Linked DNA regions of Homo sapiens: all the other regions are linked to region 1. The links are contacts of gene promoters, found by promoter capture Hi-C in human tissues and cell types (Jung and others, 2019). All regions are on one chromosome and are shown on one strand. The core of a region is centred on a gene start or on the middle of the fragment in contact, and the rest is flanking DNA. Distances in the headings are between cores, read along the strand shown. Region 1 holds the start of B4GALT7 (beta-1,4-galactosyltransferase 7). Region 2 has its middle 18 kb from the start of PROP1. Region 3 overlaps LOC100128340 (a long non-coding RNA gene). Region 4 holds the start of LOC124901146 (a long non-coding RNA gene).

What was found. The method cuts DNA at HindIII sites, captures the fragments that hold promoters and counts their contacts. A contact is called where the count stands out against the background at its distance.
Region 2: a contact is called between a fragment that was not itself captured here and the fragment with the promoter of B4GALT7 in region 1, in 2 of the 25 tissues and cell types used here (dorsolateral prefrontal cortex and thymus).
Region 3: a contact is called between a fragment that was not itself captured here and the fragment with the promoter of B4GALT7 in region 1, in 1 of the 25 tissues and cell types used here (aorta).
Region 4: a contact is called between a fragment that was not itself captured here and the fragment with the promoter of B4GALT7 in region 1, in 1 of the 25 tissues and cell types used here (IMR-90 fibroblasts).

Annotation. Positions count from the first base shown.
Region 1 is chr5:177,598,841-177,601,401 of GRCh38, forward strand. It overlaps B4GALT7 (beta-1,4-galactosyltransferase 7), which reads left to right and starts at 1,292. Exons shown (of 6, transcript NM_007255.3): 1 at 1,292-1,420. The coding sequence starts at 1,371. RefSeq lists enhancers at 445-544, 745-924 and a silencer at 1,105-1,644. The HindIII fragment of the contact is 7,199 bases long and covers 1-2,561 here.
Region 2 is chr5:177,977,177-177,979,737 of GRCh38, forward strand. No RefSeq gene overlaps it. Among named protein-coding and RNA genes, the nearest start is that of PROP1, 18 kb to the right of the region's middle. The HindIII fragment of the contact is 5,363 bases long and covers 1-2,561 here.
Region 3 is chr5:177,958,969-177,961,529 of GRCh38, forward strand. It overlaps LOC100128340 (a long non-coding RNA gene), which reads left to right. Exons shown (of 4, transcript NR_149047.1): 4 at 751-832. Among named protein-coding and RNA genes, the nearest start is that of PROP1, 36 kb to the right of the region's middle. The HindIII fragment of the contact is 6,748 bases long and covers 1-2,561 here.
Region 4 is chr5:177,937,218-177,939,778 of GRCh38, forward strand. LOC124901146 (a long non-coding RNA gene) reads right to left here and starts at 2,253. Exons shown (of 3, transcript XR_007059075.1): 1 at 2,198-2,253. LOC100128340 (a long non-coding RNA gene) reads left to right here and starts at 2,310. Exons shown (of 4, transcript NR_149047.1): 1 at 2,310-2,549. RefSeq lists an enhancer at 2,331-2,561. The HindIII fragment of the contact is 7,499 bases long and covers 1-2,561 here.

The DNA.
Region 1 (2,561 bases), core at 42-2,541:
TTTAACTTGGGGATAAGCACCTACCGATAAGGACTACGTGAGATAACCCTCATGTAGTAAGAACTATTAACAATGACTGGCACATAATAAGAACTTAATAGATGTTTGCTATCTATTAGGAAACTTAAAAGTTTGCCTGGAAGAGCAGAGGAGGTCAAGTCTAACAATTGCCGCTTTCTTTCCCCAGGTAGGAGGCTAGTAGGAGGGGTGGGGGGGCTGGGGGTGAGGGGGATGGTTAAGTTCCCACGGTGACGGGGCAGATATGGGAACTCAGTCTCCTATTCCCTTCTTCAGTTCTCAGCTCCACCAAAGTACCCTTTTCCTGGATGACAGCTGTCATTTATATGGCGTTGAACTGTGTGCCTAGCGCTGCACAAGTGTTTGCACTTTCTCCTTGAATCCCCACAGCTACCATATAGAATAGGAGCCATTGATATACCCAGGTGAGGAAACAGATGCAGAGATGTGGCTTGGTCAAAACACAGCTGAATTGGCAGAGTCTAGTTTCTTTTTCTTTTTCTTTTCTTTTTTTTTTGACGGAGTCTCGCCCTGTCACCCAGGCTGGAGTGCAGTGGTGCGATCTCGACTCACTGCAAGCTCCGCCTCCTGGGTTCACACCATGCTCCTGCCTCAGCCTCCCGAGTAGCTGGGACTAACAGGCGCCCGCCACCACGCCCGGCTAATTTTTTGTATTTTTAGTAGAGACGGGGTTTCACCGTGTTAGCCAGGATGGTCTCGCTCTCCTGACCTCGTGATCCGCCCGCCTCGGCCTCCCAAAGTGCTGGGATTACAGGCGTGAGCCACCGCGCCCGGCAAGCAGAGTCGGGTTTCAAATTCAGTCAACTTGTCTTCAGGGCTCGGCTCCTAACGCCTGCGCGGGCTGTCAGCTGAACTCAGCGCCGAGCCGTGAGCTTGGCTTTGCCCCTCCAAGCTTGCGCGGAGAACGCGCCGCCTGGGCCGAGACGGGGACCCCGGGACGCTCCCGCCTCCCCTCGGAAAGAGGACGGAGATGCAGATTCTCCCCGAGCGTTGGTTTGGGAGTCTGGACTCTTAGGTCCAGTCCCAGCCCAGTGATTTGTTGGGAGGCCCTGGGCCTCTGGGCTTCAGTTTCTCGGGCTTCCAGGCGGGTCCCGGGGCGGCTAGGAAGGAGCCGCCCAGAGAGGGAGGCGCGCCCGCGCTGCTCGCAAGCAGAACCTTGGAGGCGGCGGCTCCGGGAGCTGGCGGCGCGGCCGGAGCGGCGGACCCGGCGGACCGGGGGGCGGGGCGGACAGGCCTGGGCGGAGCGGGAGGCGGAGGCGCCGCGTAGGCCCGGGAGGCCGGGCCGGCCGGGCTGCGAGCGCCTGCCCCATGCGCCGCCGCCTCTCCGCACGATGTTCCCCTCGCGGAGGAAAGCGGCGCAGCTGCCCTGGGAGGACGGCAGGTGAGCGGCGGCGGTGGGCCCGGGCCCCGTCCTCCCGGGCGCCGCTCCCTTCTCGGCCGCCGGCGGAATCTGGGAACCCGAGGCCATCACGTCTCCATGTCTGCGGGTTTCTGTGAGGGCGTGTGGTTCTCCCTGTGGGTCCCTGGCGCTCTGTTCCGGTTTCTGTCTGTCCCTGTGGGTCTCTGCCTCCCCCGCCCCCTCTCCCTTTCCGCGGCACTCGTCCTTCCCCCAGCACCTTCCCCCCGGCCCGTGGGTCCGTATTTCTCCATTGACTTCCCTTTGTGAGTTTCTGATCCCCTCTTTGCTAGTCTCTCTCGTTATGTGTTTCGTTGTGTCTGTGTTTCTCCACCAGCCTCCCTCTATCTGCATGCGGGTCTCTGACTCCGCTGACCTCTCACCATGGATTTGTGTTTCTCAATTTGTCTCTGATCCCTGAGGACGTGTATTCCGTTTCTCTGGTCTCTGCCTTCCTCATCACATCCATATAGCCTCAGACCCTACCCTTCCTCCTTAACACTTCCCCCCATCCTTCGCAGGCCACCAGCAGAACCCACCAGACAGAAGCTCCGTGCTCTGCCTGGCTGGTCACTGCCTGGCACGTACTAGACACTCCTTATACACGCATTAGTCCATTTCCTGTGCAGCTGTATTGGCCCTACGTGAAAGATGCGAGCTTGGCCCACACCTTAGCTAATTTTGTTTCTCACTAAAGCAGAATGGGGAAAGCGATTTGACTGCCTCCATTCGTGGGGCACTTGAGATGTGTCCCTGTAAGTCTTCTCACAGAACACATGACTGGATCTCCTCCTCGTGAATGACACCTCATTTCCTTCATGTTTCTTAAGTCCGTCAGGTGCCATAAGATTCTGGAATTTAGTGGCCACAACTTGTACTTTTGGGGATTTTTCAGACTTGGTGTTGAAAGGGGAAAACAGGAATATAATAGAAAGCGTGGACTAGCGTTCGACCTGGGCAGGAGTCCTCCGTAATTATGTGAGCAGAGACCCCTGCATCTGTCCGACCGCAGCCTTTCCGTCACTGAGCCAGTTATGACAGTATTGGCTCTGCAGGGCTGTGTGAGGATTAAAGGACCGCACACATGTAAAGAGCATGGCACTGCCTAGCACAACAGGAGGTGCCA
Region 2 (2,561 bases), core at 30-2,529, 380 kb after region 1:
TTCAAGACCAGCCTGGCGAACATGGTGAAACCCGCCCCCCCAACCCGTCTCTACTAAAAATACAAAAATTAGCTAAGTGTGGTGATGCATGTCTGTAATCCCAGCTACTCGGGAGGGTGAGGCAGGAGAACTGCTTGAACCGGGAGGCGGGGGTTGCAGTGAGCCAAGATGGCACCACTGCGCTCCAGCCTGGGTGAAACAGAGCGAGACTCTGTCTTTAAAAAAGAAAAGAAAAGAAAAGCTCGATATTACTGATCATTAAAGAAATGCAAATCAAAACCACAATGAGATACCATATCGTATCAGTCAGAATGGCTATTATTAAAAAATAAAAAAATAACAGATGGTGGCGAGGTTTTGGAGAAAAAGGAATGCTTATACACCGTTGGCAGGAGTGTAAATTAGTTCAACCATTGTGGAAGACAGTGTGGTGATTTCTCAAAGATATAAATACAGAAATACCATTCCACCCTGCAATCCCATTACTGGGTATATACCCAAAGGAAAATAAATTGTTGTTATAAAGACACAGGCACAGATATGTTTATTGCAGCACTATTCACAGTAGCAAAGGAAAAAAAAAGACTCCAGGAGGCGTCCCTGGGAGACTTTCTCCAGCCTCATAGCCCATCTTGCACCCAAGTGACAGCACGTGGCTTTCCTTTTGTGAGGGGAGCCCATGGGATTCACTCCCTTTTCCTATTTCCTCCGGGGTGAAGCCTCATGTGTCGGGACAATGTGGGATCAGGGACTGTCTGGGTGACCCTGGCGAGCCTCTCCTCACGGAGTTCTAGCGGCCATCAGGGAAAGGGGAGCACGCCCAGGGCGGCCGCCCCCAGGGGTGTTTGAATACAGGCCAGGAGCAGGCTGCTCTGTGATGGTGGGGCGGGAGGTGATGAGACTCCCCTGAGAGGCTCCCTTCGGTGCTGGAAAGATGGGACATGGGGAACCGCCTCCTGCCTGGACCAGTTGATGCCCAGAGCCACTCCCCTGGGTCCTCATCGCTCCTTCCAGGCAGTGAGGATGTGGGTTTCCAGGGGAATCCAGGCCTTTAGGGAGAGTGGGAATCTGACTTTGATCTTGCAGCTCCGCATTTTTCCTGCACATTTGCTGATTAGTTTATGCCTGTCAGGGGCCTCAGGGCCAGTGCTAAGTCCCAGGGTCTTAGGGTAGGAAAGATGATTCCCCAGATTTCCTGCAGGCATTTGAGCATGGTGGAAGGATCAGTGGAGCCTCCAGTGAAACTTGGCAGATTGCGCACTTCATTTATTTTCACTCTCCCAGGATCCTTCCCAAATTATCATAAATAAACAGAGAATTCTGAAACCTACAAAGAAAAATACAGCAAAAGAACAATGAATCAGTTTCAAAGCCTAGGCAGAGAGGCCGTAGGGTGACTGACAGCAGCCCCTGTGGGACTGGAGAGCAGACGGTTTGGTGGAAACAGCGCCCAGTTCCACAGAGGGAACTTGAGGAGAAGCAAAGTGACTGAGCCAGCAGAGCCGGGCCCCAGACCCCCACCCCAGCCTGTGGGAACTGCAGGTGTGATCTGGGAACACACTGTTCTGTCCCTTCTATTTTTCTCTTCATATAAGCTCTGGTTCTAGAAACAACTCACCTGCAGCCGTGTGTGTGTGTGTGTGTGTGTGTGTGTGTGTGTGTGTGTGTGTGTGTGTGTGTGTGAAAGAGACACAGAGCACGTGGGAGCTCATTTCTCCCTGGGTGTGTGTGTGTGTGTGTGTGTGTGTGTGAAAGACAGACACAGAGCACGTGGGAGCTCATTTCTCCCTGGGTGTGTGTGTGTGTGTGAAAGACAGAGACACAGAGCACGTGGGAGCTCATTTCTCCCTGGGTGTGTGTGTGTGTGTGTGTGAAAGACAGACACAGAGCACGTGGGAGCTCATTTCTCCCTGGGTGTGTGTGTGTGTGTGTGTGTGTGAAAGACAGAGACACAGAGCACGTGGGAGCTCATTTCTCCCTGGGTGTGTGTGTTTGTGTGTGTGAAAGACAGAGACACAGAGCACGTGGGAGCTCATTTCTCCCTGGGTGTGTGTGTGTGTGTGTGTGTGAAAGACAGAGACACAGAGCACGTGGGAGCTCATTTCTCCCTGGGTGTGTGTGTGTGTGTGTGTGTGTGTGTGTGTGTGTGAAAGAGACACAGAGCACGTGGGAGCTCATTTCTCCCTGGGTGTGTGTGTGTGTGTGTGAAAGACAGAGACAGAGCACGTGGGAGCTCATTTCTCCCTGGGGGTGTGTGTGTGTGTGTGAAAGACAGAGACACAGAGCACGTGGGAGCTCATTTCTCCCTGGGTGTGTGTGTGTGTGTGTGTGTGTGTGAAAGACAGAGACACAGCACGTGGGAGCTCATTTCTCCCTGGGTGTGTGTGTGTGTGTGTGTGTGTGTGTGTGAGAAAGACAGAGACACAGAGCACGTGGGAGCTCATTTCTCCCTGGGTGTGTGTGTGTGTGTGTGTGTGTGTGTGTGTGTGTGAAAGACAGACACAGAGCACGTGGGAGCTCATTTCTCCCTGGGTGTGTGTGTGTGTGTGTGTGTGTGTGTG
Region 3 (2,561 bases), core at 41-2,540, 360 kb after region 1:
CCGCCCAGTCCTCCCACAGCTCAGGCAAACCCTGGCAGGGCCCCTTCGTTCATATGCTAACAACCACGGCTTCACCTGCGGATTAAGGCAATGGGAAAACGGGCTTTCCCTGGAATCCCGTTCTGTCCTTGCCAATCATTGAGATGCTAGTGGGATTCTTGTTAGGCTTGAATAGTTTACATTTCCAGGGTCATCCCAGGCTTTGGTCATCATCATCTCTCACAGATCCCAACACAACCCAGGCCTGTGGCCATGTCCCTGACCTAGGGTGGGATCCATGGATTTACTGGAAGGACTGGCAGTGCCCTTCTTTCCAATGTTGTTCTATTGGAGACCAGTAGCACTGGTGGAGGTTGACATGGAGAAAGGAAACGGGCATCAATCAGGAGAACAAAATCAGGCCCTAACGGTTAGAGCAGAGAGGGAAGTCTGTGCCAGGCACAGAGCATCATGGAGACAGTGGCCGCCTCCTGGGGAAAGGGGATGACACGGGCCTCCCCTCCCTGGGGAATTTGAGGGTTATGGAATTTGAAGGCTGGGAAAGCATGTGGGAAATCAGAGGCCCCTCCCTCGCTGTAGGGAGGAAGTGATCCAGGCTGTGGAGAGGACTCTAGAGATGAGCACACTAGAGCCTCTGGGGTTGGCGTCACAGCCCCAGGACAGCGGGGCCCAAATGGCCCCTCGACTCTAACTCTCCCCTTTCCTTCCCATGGCTGCCCCATCACCGCTGCTGCTCTGGACACCCTGAAGGTCATTTGGCCAATTTAATGCCGACAGAAGAGGCCACCATCTGAATGTAATTTATCTCCTCTTTCATCTCCTTTCATTCCCCTCCTCCTTTTTTTTTTTTTTTTGGGACAGAGTCTCACTCTGTTGCCCAGGCTGGAGTGCAGTGGCGTGATCTTGGCTCACTGCAAGCTCTGCCTCCCAGGTTCACGCCATTCTCCTGCCTCAGCCTCCTGAGTAGCTGGGACTACAGGCACCCGCCACCACGCCCAGCTAATTTTTTGTGTTTTTAGTAGAGACGAGGTTTAGCGTGTCTATGTGACACCCCAGGATTTTAGCAGATACACAAGTGAAAAACCATGTTGCTAAAAAGTATTTCCCATCTTCCAATTTTCTTATCATCATCTTGGAAATAAAATCTGTACGTACTTGGGAATAAAATTTATTGAATTATCAAAAATATGTATGCTAATGTATGTGAGTCATTAGCTATATCCACATTGACATAAAATTTGTGAAGACTCTTCAAAATCTCTTAAAGATTTATTTGGCTGGGCGCGGTGGCTCACGCCTGTAATCCCAGCAGTTTGGGAGGCTGAGGCAGGCGGATCATGAGGTCAGGAGATGGAGACCATCCTGGCTAACACGGTGAAACCCCGTCTCTACTAAAAATACAAAAAACTAGCTGGGCGTGGTGGCGCGCGCCTGTAGTCCCAGCTACTCGGGAGGCTGAGGCAGGAGAATGGCGTGAACCCGGGAGGCGGAGCTCGGAGTGAGCCGAGATCACGCCACTGCACTCCAGCCTGGGTGACAGAGCGAGGACTCTGTCTCAAAAAAAGGAAAAATAAAAACACGAGAACGTACTGCAGGAGAAAACAGGCCTGGCCTGAGACGGCTGTGCCGGCTTTCTGAGGCCGTGAATGGCAAGACCTCGAGACTGTCAAGAGGAGCAAGAGGAGTCGGGATTTAGCGTCAGTGATGAGGTGCGCCACTCACTGTGTGACTTCAGAGTGTTTCTGGGGAAAGAAAATGAAGTCCTGTGAAGTATGCGGAGCACCCTCAGCAGCAGCCGTGGATCTGAACAGCCTCCCAGACACAGACGCCATGGGTGTGAAGTGTGTCAGGAACAAGCGAAGTCACCCACAATGGAGAGGAACACCCTAGTGTGCTAGAACTTTTGAACCACTTTTCCTCCTGTCTTGGGTCAGGCCTCATAGCTAACCCTTTGGTGCGCGGTACTCTCTCTGGCTATTGGAGAGATGTGAGAAGCTTAAGAAAAGCAAATGAGAAGACGTGGAGCAGGCAGATGGCCGGTCCCCATGGAAGAGTCCCCATTGTGAGGCCTCCCTGGGGATCTGGCGGTGGCCACAACACACTGGCCGGTGAGATTGGTTGTGATTGTCATTGTTGTGGAAAATGATTATCATCTGTCCTCAATGGTGCCAATGCTGACTCACCTGGAGGTGGAATGATGGCCATGGTGACACTGAGGAGGGAGCGTGGCAGAGGGAATGATGGCCGTGGTGACACTGAGGAGGGAGCGTGGCAGAGGGAATGATGGCCGTGGTGACACTGAGGAGGGAGCGTGGCAGAGGGAACGATGGCCATGGCTGACATTGAGGAAGGAGCTGGCAGAGGGAATGATGGCCGTGGTGACACTGAAGAGGGAGCGTGGCAGAGGGAATGATGGCCATGGTGAAACTGAGGAGGGAGCGTGGCAGAGGGAATGATGGCCGTGGTGATATTGAGGAGGGAGCGTGGCAGAGGGAACGATGGCCATGGTGACACTGAGGAGGGAGCGTGGCAGAGGGAACGATGGCCATGGTGACACTGAG
Region 4 (2,561 bases), core at 39-2,538, 340 kb after region 1:
TTTGAGACCAGCCTGGCCAGCATGGTGAAACCTCGTCTCTACTAAAAATACAAAGATTAGTTGGCCATGGTGGTGGGCACCTGTAATCCCAGCTACTCAGGAGGCTGAGGCAGAAGAATCACTTAAACCCGGGTGGCAGAGGTTGCAGTGAGCTGAGATCATGCCACTGCACTCCAGCCTGGGCGACAGAGTGAGACTCCATCTCAAAAAAAAAAAAAAAAAAAAAAATTGCTCCTGTATTACCAGATGCCCCTTTTAGTATTATTTTAGAAGCATTGGGAGAGTTTTGGCTAAAGTGCAATTTACCAGAAAACACTAGATTTTAGCTTTATAAAACTTAAATCTTTCATAGGACCTATATTTTCTTGAATTAAATTTTGCAGTTCTAGGCCAGGCACAGTGGCTCATGCCTGTAATCCCAGCATTTGGGAGGCCGAGGCGGGTGGATCATGTGAGGTCAGGAGTTCAAGACCAGCCTGGCCAACATGGTGAAACTCCGTCTCTACTAAAAGTAGAATATAAGTAGTGTATAAGCCCTGGGTCCTAGGCTCTGGGTATAAGCCTCACGTTTTTTCTGGGTATAAGACTTGTGTTTCCTAGGCTCTGGATATAAGCTACATGTCCTAGGCTCTGAGTACAAGCCCAATGTCCTAGGCTCCGTGTATAAGACCCGGGTCCTAAACTCTGGATATAAGCCTTGTGTCCTCGGCTCTGGGTATAAGCCTTGTGTTTTAGTCTTTGGGTATAAGCTCCATATCCTAGGCTCTGGGTATAAGCTTTGTTTCCTAGGCTCTGGGTATAAGCCCCACGTCCTTGGCTCTGTGTATAAGCCCCAAGTCCTAGGCTCTGGGTATAAGCCCCAAATCCTAGGCTCTGGGTATAAGCCCCGGGTCCTAGGCTCTGGGTATAAGCCCCGGGTCCTAGGCTCTGGGTATAAGCCCCAAGTCCTAGGCTCTGGGTGTAAGCCCCGGGTCCTAGGCTCTGGGTGTAAGCCCCGGGTCCTAGGCTCTGGGTGTAAGCCCCGGGTCCTAGGCTCTGGGTGTAAGCCCCGGGTCCTAGGCTCTGGGTGTAAGCCCCGGGTCCTAGGCTGTGGGTGTAAGCCCCGGGTCCTAGGCTCTGGGTGTAAGCCCCGGGTCCTAGGCGCTGGGTATAAGCCCCGGGTCGTAGGCTCACCCCAGGACCCCCCAGCACAGGTCCAGTGGCTTCCCGTTATTAGAGGTGAATGTGATCCTGGGCATCATTTATTTGGGGGAAAATTGGATTCTTTGGGGCTCCAGTTCCTCTCTGCTGCTGGCTCTCCTAGGCTGCCAGTCCCACATCCCACTTCCCCTGTGTAGAAGGGGGAAGGCCACCCCCTCCACACTCCCCCCCATGAGGCTGAAAGTGGCCAAATTCTCCCATAGAAAAAGTTTGCTGCGGCTTTGAATAAACATAGAAATTGATCATCCCAGCCTTAAAGAAAGTTACATTTGTCTCAGTGGAGTTTTCTTGGGAAACCTCCCAGAGAACAGTAGGGAGCTGAAACTTACGAGCTAGAGCTCTGGGCCTGATAGTGAGAGGCCTGCCCCTCAGCCCTCCGGAGTGCCTCAGCCACCTGGTGTCTGTTGACCAACGCCTTTGCCTCCCTGCTCTCTAACTCCTGTTTTTCCACAACTGGTTACATTTCTTCTTGGCCAGGCCTCCAGGACCCCCACCCTCTGCACTGCCCTGGATGCTGACGAAGGCTCTCCTTCCCTCTCCCTAACCAGCTCCTCCCCTCCTCCCACCTTTGGCCATGCAGAGGCCCAGCTACACTGTGCCTCTGCCTCTGAGAAATGGCTGGGGGTGCGCTGCGGGGGTGCGCTGCTGGGGAGCCTGGAGCTGGGGTAGGGATGGGGGGTTGGGGAGAGGGTGTTGTTCTCAGAGTCCTCTGGGTCGCAACCCCAGCAACCCCAGCAGTACCAGATCTTGCATCCCCACCTGGTTTCCTTGCCCGCTGTGCAGTGGAAAGGGCGCACCTGTTTGAAAGGAGCGGCTGTGCTTGCAGAGGTGCGCTGACCCAGGATACTGGTGGCCTTTCCAGCACCCGCCTGTCTGGCAGCTACCGCCCCACGCTCCTATCCCTGCTTAGTGGAGCCCCGCTGCTACCGCGTCCTGTTCTGACCTCTGCCAGCCCGCGCCCCGCTCCCCTCCGCGTCCTGCTGCCCGCGTTCTGTACCTGCCCGCGCCCCGCTCCTACGCGTGCGCCACTCCTATCCGTGCCCCGCTCCTAGCTAAGCCCGGCCCGTGCCCACTCCCACCCGCCGCCTTGCGCTGCCCCTTCCGGCTCCTCCCCAGCAGCCGGCACCCGCCTGGCCCAACAGTGACAGAGCAGGGCGCGCAGCCGCTGAGTGCTCTGGAGTCCCTGCCCCGAGGTGCCACGCCCACGTCGGCCTCACCCGGGCAGGCATGGGGCGGTCGGGCTTAGCGCCGCACCCCGCCGGCCAGAGCCACCGTCTCTCCAGACGCGGCCCCAGCGCCCACTGGGGATGGCAAAGACGACATCCGGTGCGCCGAGGCTGCTCACAAAAGTAAGTCTTGCT